Linked DNA regions of Homo sapiens: region 1 is linked to region 2. The links are contacts of gene promoters, found by promoter capture Hi-C in blood cells and fetal thymus (Javierre and others, 2016). All regions are on one chromosome and are shown on one strand. Each heading gives the region's core, a stretch centred on a gene start or on the middle of the fragment in contact. The rest is flanking DNA. Distances are from core to core; before and after follow the strand shown.

Region 1 (4,423 bases), core at 1,392-3,891, 1.6 Mb before region 2:
AGGGCCCCATCTGGCTCATGGGTGCTGGGTGTGGGGAGAGTCCCTGGAGCAGGACTCTGCCTGAGGAGCATTTGCTGGATACCACCCTCCCCACCAGGCATGTCATCAGGGCATCATCGGTGCCAGCGCAAGCATCTCACTAGTAGGGTCTGTGTGGGTGAGACAGTCCTGGAGGGCTGCCTGGAGGAGTCATGGCAATCCTAGGTTCCCATAGCCCTCAGAGGCCCTGCCTGTTTTAATGAGGCCCGGGCCATGGAAGCAACTCTCTTTCCACTGAGCAGGAAGCTTTGACCACATCAGAAAAGCTCCCCTTCCCTGGGCCTGCTGTGTCTCCTCCTGCTCAGAGATGAGCATCGGTTTCCATTCACTCCCCATTCCCCAGCATCCAGGCCCAGCCACTCTCCAACCACTCTGAGGTCTGCATTCTGACCAAAATCAAACCTCCAGGGACCTCCTCTAGCTTGAGTCTCAGACGTGGGAACTCCAGCCTGCTGCCCCAGAGTGACTCTTGGAGTGACCCCTTGGGTGGTCCACGGGAGCCAGGGAGGGATAGGGAGGACACATCCACCATGAGAGGCTGTTGAATTTCCGGCAAAGCTCAAGTCTACTTTATCTTAAAACTGGTCTAGCAGGTTGGTGTCAAAGGCTGCCCAGGCTTGCACAGGGCCTACTTCTCCTGGAGGAAGAGGGCCTTTATGAGAGCTGGAGAAGTCTGGGATGTCCTATGCACAGACCCTGAGTCTTCCTGCCTTCGTAGTCAGGCCTCTAGGCCTTTAGGCCCCCGGCCCCTCGCCTTCCACTTCACTGTGGGCAACCGTGCAGGACGGGAGGGTCCCCATCTGAGAGTGAGGTGGGCCTAGTCATGGACCCCAGCCCCACTCAGCTGTGTGTCCAGCCTTGGCCAGGAGAGATTTGCTCAGTCAGTAGATTAAAAGTCCAGCCTAGGTGCAGGGACCTAGTGAGATGTACACACTGGCACCAATGATACCCCAGTGGTATGTCTGGAAGGGGGGTGGTATCCAGCAAACACTCCTTGGGGGCAACAAGAAATACCTAGATGGCTTAGCAGCATTTCTGTCCGAAGGTTGTTCCAGAGGGAGGCTTGTGAATCCAGGGAGGGACGCCACACAGGATCAATCTCCAAACCCATTTCCCACCTGGAGGCAGAATCCTCTAGGGCCCAGCCCCCAGACCCCCTCCTCCAGAAAGCCCTCCTGAATCTCCCCATCCTCCTGCATGCCTTCTGAACCTGTGGGTGCCTAGGCTTTAGCAAGCCAGACCCTTGGAGGCAGAATAGAGCAGTGGTTATTCCAAACAATGTCTGGAATCAGGATGTGAACTCTGGCTCTGCCTCTCACCACCCCTCTCTGAGGCCTTCCCTCTTCAGCTGTAGATGAGGACAACCTCTGCTAGTGGGGTAGGAACCCAACCCAGAGTCACAGAGTTGCTGCCCTCACCTCTTTCTGCCCCCGCTCCCACACTCTACCCTCCAGATCCTTCTTTCTGGCCTCTTGCCTCCAGGCCCTCATGAGTACAGATACCTCCCTTAGAAATGAGGGTCAGATCACAGCACTCCCCTGCTAGGCTCTGAAGAGGTGCTTTGCCATCCTCAAATAAAATCCACCTGCTTCCTTTGCCCTTCCCACCCCTCCTGGGCAGCCATTCTGGGCTCTAGGTCTCTGCCTCAGGGCCACTGCACTTGTAGTTCCTTTCACCTGGGACATCCCTTCTGCAAGTTGTCTGCATGGCCAGCTCCTGCTCATTGCCTGGGTCTCCAGGCTCAGTGCCACCCAAAGCTGCAGAGCTATCCCCAACGCCCTCCCAGCTGCAGGGTGTCCCCATTCCCAAAGTTACTCTTCCCACCCCCACTGCTTTTCTTTCTTTACACTCTCAAAGCTTGTCCTATGCACCCATTTGTTCACTAGTTCACTCTCTGTCTCTCCCGCTAGCCCACGAGCCCAATGAGTATGGGGACCGTGTCTGTCTTGTTCCCTGCTGTCTCCAGGACCTAGATGGAGTCTGGCCCAGTTGGTGCCTTTGGAGCACATGTGCTGGTGGAGGACTTAATGATAAAGTGTGACCTTCGTTACTGTTTGTATGTTGTGCAGGGTCCTTGCACCCACCAGAAGGCTCATCCCTTTGTTCCTGGCTAGTGTCAACATGTGTGCCCCTTTTACTAGGCCAGGACCACACAGTGGTGATCACGTTGGCCAGAGGATCTTCAGCATCTGTTAGGCTGAGTCTCTGATTGGGGTCTGGGCAGGCATCATTCACTGCCCTGGCAGGGAAACAAGAAAAGAAGATGGAACCTGGAACCTGTTGGGGGTCAGAAGTAGCTGGCAGCCCCTCCCCAGACAGGAGCCGGGCCCTGGCTTGAGCTGAGGCCAGGGTGAAGAGAACAGGACCTTGGTGGCCAGGCCAGTGGCCAAGAGCTCTCAGCAGGCAGGGATACCAGGAGATAGAAAACAGCATCCAAGAGCAACTTGCCTGGAAGCCACCATCCCTGTCCTCCCCATCTCATGTAGTAATCCGGGGGACAAAAGGTCAGTCAGGACCCCCCAGGGTTAGCTCTGCCCTGAGCCCCACTTGTTGAGTGGCCGTGGTCAGCCCCTTCCCTGCTCTGAGCCTCGGTTTCCTCATCTGTGTAGCGTGGGTAATATTTGGACTTCACTCCCAAAGTTGTGGTGAGTGCTACATGAGGTGCAAGCCCTCGCCCCATGCCCAGCACCTGGCAGGCACCTTGAGACATTTCTCTCTGTGTACAAAGCAGTTTTCTGTGCTTCCTCTAGCCACAGCAGCTTTCTGTCCAGGCTGCAGCACCAGGTGAGGAACAGCTTGACACTGGCCCCTCTGTATCCACTACCCATCCGCTAGGTGACTCAAATCTAGGGGTGAAGCAGACAGAGGGGTTACCTCAGGCATTCTGGAAGCAATGAAGCAGCTGAAATTCAGACTGAAGGAATGAGGAACTGTAAATACCCCTGGCTGGGTCATGGTGACCTGGAGGAAGCGTGCCATCTGGCCCTACAGACAGCCAAGCGCTCAGGCCGCCGCCAGTAACAGGGAAGGCACGTGGCTGGCCACCTGGGTCTGGGCACCACATCCAGGAAAGACAGCCCTCCCTCCATCACCCACCTCTTGCTCACTCTCACCTAACGTCAGACCTATTCTTTGCCATGACTGCCTCCATGTCCCCAGGGTCCTGTGTGAACTCCATGGTTCTTGCTGTCTATCCTCGTCCTTACCCCTCCCTGTAATCAGCCTGTCACTCCTCACCCCTCCTTGCTCTCAACCTGCCAACAAGTGTCTCTTCTACTCTAAGACTTCTAATTGCTTGAGGGCTAAGACAACAGGAAGGTTAGGATTGTTTCCAGAATAAAGGTTAGAAAGCTTTAGAGAAGCTTTCCTGTGGGGCCCTCAAGCAAAGGTGCGGAAAACTTCGGGACACAGGAAGATCTCAACAGATAGTGTTCCAAAGTCAGACTGTCCGGTAATGGAGGGTGTTTTCATTGAAATTGCTCTTCCACACACTTTTGGTGTGCTGAACCCTGAGAGAGAAGAAAGGATCCCCCAATCCCAACCAGTCTGGACTAGAACCCGGACACCTCCGCCCCAGGTCAGACTCTGCCAGCTCACTGGCCCCTACCCCGATTCAATTGCCCTGCCCCACTGCACAGAGCAAGCCCTCTTCAGTTCTGTGTGTCAGGAACACGTGCCTCCCAGTCATGCCTTGGTGCCTTTGCACTCACTGTACCTTCTTCCTGGGAGAACCAGCCCTGACTTCTCTGACTACTAGTTTCCTCATCTCAAGACACTGACCCCAGGAGTAGTCCACAGCTCTCTCTCCCTGGGTATTCTCCACTTGCGATTTGGAGTTGGCATTTCTTGTTTACACATCTCTCAGGGCTGATGCACCTCTGCCACCCTCCCCCGAGCCCTCGCCTGGCAGTGGCCAGGGCAGTCACCCTGCAGGCAGTCTAACTGGCCTTTGTCTCCTAGCTCCCATTTCCCAAGGGGACCCAGGGGAGATGAGAGGAGAGGCTGCTCCCTGTCTCCTCCACTCCTTAATGAGTCCCCAGCAGGGACTGCTCAGCCACATAGAATTTCTGGGCCTCTCCGCTAGCCCAAATATCAAATGGGGGCTAATGATAACAAGATCAAAGGGGACACACTGTGTACACAACTGAAAATCGGCCCCATTGAGGGCTCTGTACATGAAAGGTATCATTTTATTATAGAGGTAATAAAATAAAGAGGTAATAAAGGTATAATGTCATTACAGAAAAATCAGTGGAAGAGAAAAGACCACCAAACTGTTCTTTGCTATAATTATTATTTCATGAAGTCTTATCAGACGTGTATTTCTCTCCTCTCATGTGCAGGCACCTTCCTGGGCAGGAAGCAGACCTAGCAGAACTGCAGT
Region 2 (4,187 bases), core at 1,134-3,633:
CACCATTGCACTCCAGCCTGGGCAACAAGAGCGAAACTCTGTATCAAAAAAAAAAAAAAGAAAAAGAAAAAGACAAATGGCCCAGTAGAAAGTGTGGCAAAGGATACAAACAGACCATTCACAGAAAAAGATAGATAAATAACATCTCTCAGGAAAGTACCTCCCAGTCACCCTTTGTTGGAAAGTTGTTGAAGGATGCACTTCAGCAAAATGAGGGAGTAAACCAAGAGACATAGGCTTAAGATCCAGGCAAGAGTGAGGCGCTTAGGAGCCCAGGAAGCCAGAAGAGCCTGGTAGCACTGAAGGAACACTCAGGCCACCTTGGAACAGAGAGGATGGGATTGCCATGTGGTTCCACATGGCTCTGAAAATAGACAATGGCTAAGCTGTGCAACAGACTGCCTATGACATTTGGTTGCCCAGAGCTTCTGTGAAAATACTTCAGGACAAGGCTTTCCCCCACCCAGGGGTGGGTTGGGGAATAGAGTGTATGCACTTTGTTTTGTCCAATTTTAGACTTTAAAATCCTCTGAGGCATCAACTGGTGAGGGTGAGGAAGTGGCCCCATAGACTGAATTGGGCCTGCCCCACCCTGGTACCTTTCTGTTCTGTCACAGTGACAATTCACAGCTCAGAGGTCCTTTGGGAAACTTTCTCTGACATCGCCCCTATCCTCTTGCCAGCTGGATGAAGCAGCATCCACCAGAACTGCTACCATCACTGCAGGGGGCTTGGTGGGCAGAGGCCTGGCTTGTCTCCATTAGCACTGCGTTCCTGTGCCCAGTGTGGCCCCAGCAGACACTGTGGGTTCAGTCAATCAGCCCCCAGGCTGGTCTGGGACTGAGTCATCGGAGGGAGTGGGTGTTGGGCACAGGTCCCTGCCCTAAGAACCTTCCTTCTTGGGCCCGAGGAACTCCCACTGGGGCAGGACTAGCTGCTGGGAGGAAGTAGGGCTTACTGAGCGTCTACCTGGGCTAGGGAGTGGAGGTGAAGGTGGACTCCTCATACAGCTCATATGCAGGCACTGGGCTGTGGAGCCTTAGCCGCTTTTAATTGGCAAGCCCTGGCTTCCTGGAGGAGGAAAGGGGAAGAGAAGTGCCCTGGGGGCGAGGATTGAGTCAGCTGCATTGTCATAATGGAAATAGTACAGCCCTGGGTGTCCAAGACTTCCCCTCCATGGGCCTCAGAATCGTCCATATGATGTAACACTCTTTTTTTTGAGACTGAGTCTCGCTCTGTTGCCCTGGCTGGAGTGCAGTGGCTCCATCTCGGCTCACTGCAACTTCTGCCTCCTGGGTTCAACCGATTCTTGTGCCCCAGCCTTCTGAGTAACTGGGATTACAGGCGCACACCACCACGCTTGGCTAATTTTTAGTACAGACGGGGTTTCACCATGTTGGCCAGGCTGGTCTCGAACTCCTGACCTCAAGTGATCCGCCCGCCTCGGCCTCCCAAAGCACTGGGATTACAGGCGTGAGCCACTGCCTCCGGCCAAAGTAACACTTTTGCACAGGGAGTTGGACTTGAGTGACAAATGGGTGACAAAGTGCTTTGTTAACTCGCAGATGTGAAGGGGACACTGCGGCTGACCGCCTGGTGACAGCTAGCCAGTGGTTGAGAGACCGCAAGATGGTTCCTCGTCTTTCACTTCCCTCCGTCCCAGGTCTGAACTCGGACCAGCTGGAGCCTTTGGGGGACCACGGATTCCCCTTTACACTCACACAGATTTCTCTTGTCCGTCACTCACTCACAGTCCAGTAAGGATCCTGCTGTCTATTCCGCGAAGACATCTTGAATGCAGGGACAGCCATTTGGAAGACTGTCCTCGAGGGTGGCAGCAGCCTCTCAGGACGGGGAAAGCCAAGGTGCCCACTAAGCCCGTCTGGGGTGGAGGGTGGCAGGCCGGGGTGGAGAGGATTGGAGGCCGCCTGAAGGAACCTGTGCTCGGTGGCATTTACTCAATGTGGGGGTCTGACACCTCCCAGCTCATTTTGTCCCCATCTTCCCCTTGCGTCAGGTCCCCACCCAGCAGGAGGAGGTCCGAGGATCTGCGCGACGCTGGCCCCGCGGAGTGTGGGGGACTTTTCCTCTCAACCACCAGTGCCCCGCAAGCGTGGGTGAACAGTCCTCCCTGGCTACTGTGGGACGCTGGGCAGGCGACTTCGCCTCTCTAGGCCTCGGTTTTCCTGCTTGTCAAATGGGGCTGATGCCGGCGTGGGCTTCTTCAGGCGGTCGCGAGCGTTGACCCCTGGAGTCAGCGAACCAGCCGCGCACGCACTCCCGGGCGGAGGTCGGGGCTGGGGGGCGACGCCTCCCGTCTGCGCGCCCCCGGCCCCGCCTCCCGCCGGCGCACCCCTCCCTCGGCTCCGCCCGCGGCCCGCTTCTTCCTCCCGCGGGCGGCCCAGCCCTAGCGCCCCGCGCTCCGCGGGCAGCCCCCTGCCGCCGCGCCATGTCCGCCGGCTGGTTCCGGCGCCGCTTCCTGCCTGGGGAGCCGCTCCCCGCGCCGCGGCCGCCTGGGCCGCATGCCAGCCCCGTGCCCTACCGACGGCCCCGCTTCCTTCGCGGCTCCAGCTCCAGCCCCGGGGCGGCCGACGCCTCGCGCCGCCCAGACTCCCGGCCCGTGCGCAGCCCCGCACGAGGACGCACGCTACCCTGGAATGCAGGCTACGCCGAGTGAGTGCCCCTCCCCGACCCCCAGCTCAGGCCCGGGCCTGAACCCGCTTCGGGTCCTGCGCCCGCCTAGAAAGCGGGAGGAGCTGAGTGACAGTCCCCACCCACCTGTGGACAGCCCCTTCTTGCCCTCACCTCCGAATCCTGACAACTTCCCGGTCATCCCGACCCAGCGTTTTCCTTGGGATTCCGACCTCCCCCTCAGAGAAGACAGGAGGTCGGGAAGGACCTGCAGCCCAGGGGCTTCCAAGATGAGGCCCAGAGACTCGGTAGAGTTCCAGCATTCGGGGCTTTGGAGATTTCCCCTCGCCCTCTACCCCCACCATCTCACCCTGGGTATGACCTGCGCTGTATGGGACAGGGCTTTGGGCTGCGACAGGACAGGGGCAGGAATGGCAACCTACCCTTACCGTCTAGCCCTGGGTCACCAGGTAGGCTCCAGAGGAGCTGGGCCCTGACTTTTACCTTAGCCATGAGGCCAGTGAAGTTAGGAAGCTTACATCGTGGTTGTCTAAGTGTGTGTTAGGGACAGCACTGGGGAGCTGTTGCCCCAGAGGGAGGGGTCTTCTCCCTGTGCTGGCTTGGGTCCCTGTGCCCATGGGGACATAGGTGTGTCCCTGGAGGGTCGCTTACCATTTCCCGGCCTCAGGATTATCAATGCAGAGAAATCTGAATTCAATGAGGATCAAGCCGCCTGTGGGAAGCTGTGCATCCGGAGATGTGAGTTTGGGGCTGAAGAAGAGTGGCTGACCCTGTGCCCAGAGGAGGTGAGTGCAGTCTGAGTTCTTGGCTGGAATCCCTCCGACAGGCTGGGGCCACGACCTGCAGGCTGAGGTTCTTACCCTGCTGCCCCAGGTCCTAGTTAGGTTGCGTCAGGGGACAAGTGGGGAAGTCAGGCAGAGGCTGACACTGAGCCCTTCCTGTGCAGTTCCTGACAGGCCATTACTGGGCACTGTTCGATGGGCACGGCGGTCCTGCAGCAGCCATCTTGGCTGCCAACACCCTGCACTCCTGCTTGCGCCGGCAGCTGGAGGCCGTGGTGGAAGGCTTGGTGGCCACTCAGCCCCCCATGCACCTCAATGGCCGCTGCATCTGCCCCAGTGACCCTCAGTTTGTGGAGGAAAAGGGCATCAGGGCAGAAGACTTGGTGATCGGGGCATTGGAGAGTGCCTTTCAGGAATGTGTGAGTGTGTGGCTTTTGGCTGGGGAAGAAGTGGAGATTTTGCCCCGGGGATCTCAGGAAATGGCATCTCTGTATACCCATGGTCATCACACCAGATCCTTGGATTGGGAGGATGAGATTGGGTTGGTTGGATTGTTACTAACAGCCATCACTATCAGCATAACCCCTCTCATTTATCCAGCACCTACTGTGTGCTAACTGCTTTTACCTGCATCATCTAATTGAATACCCTATTGGTCCTTGGTGCAGGGGCTGGTTTCTCTTCCTATTTTGAGTAGCACTTCCCTTGTCTAGATCTCCTGACTGCAGGGATCTTGGAGGTATGGCTGGACTT

The links. Contacts are between HindIII fragments. The CHiCAGO score rates a contact against its expected background, and 5 or more counts as called.
Region 1: a contact is called between a fragment that was not itself captured here and the fragment with the promoter of PPM1M in region 2, in 1 of 17 cell types (activated CD4 T cells). The highest score is 6.9, in activated CD4 T cells.

What each region holds. Positions count from the first base shown.
Region 1 is chr3:50,602,278-50,606,700 of GRCh38, forward strand. It overlaps CISH (cytokine inducible SH2 containing protein), which reads right to left. Exons shown (of 3, transcript NM_145071.4): 3 at 4,212-4,423. Among named protein-coding and RNA genes, the nearest start is that of CISH, 7.3 kb to the right of the region's middle. RefSeq lists an enhancer at 1-450 and a silencer at 2,973-3,022. The HindIII fragment of the contact is 1,494 bases long and covers 1,895-3,388 here.
Region 2 is chr3:52,243,376-52,247,562 of GRCh38, forward strand. PPM1M (protein phosphatase, Mg2+/Mn2+ dependent 1M) reads left to right here and starts at 2,384. Exons shown (of 10, transcript NM_144641.4): 1 at 2,384-2,673; 2 at 3,320-3,437; 3 at 3,599-3,853. The coding sequence starts at 2,450. RefSeq lists silencers at 2,258-2,627, 2,668-2,727. The HindIII fragment of the contact is 3,516 bases long and covers 1-3,163 here.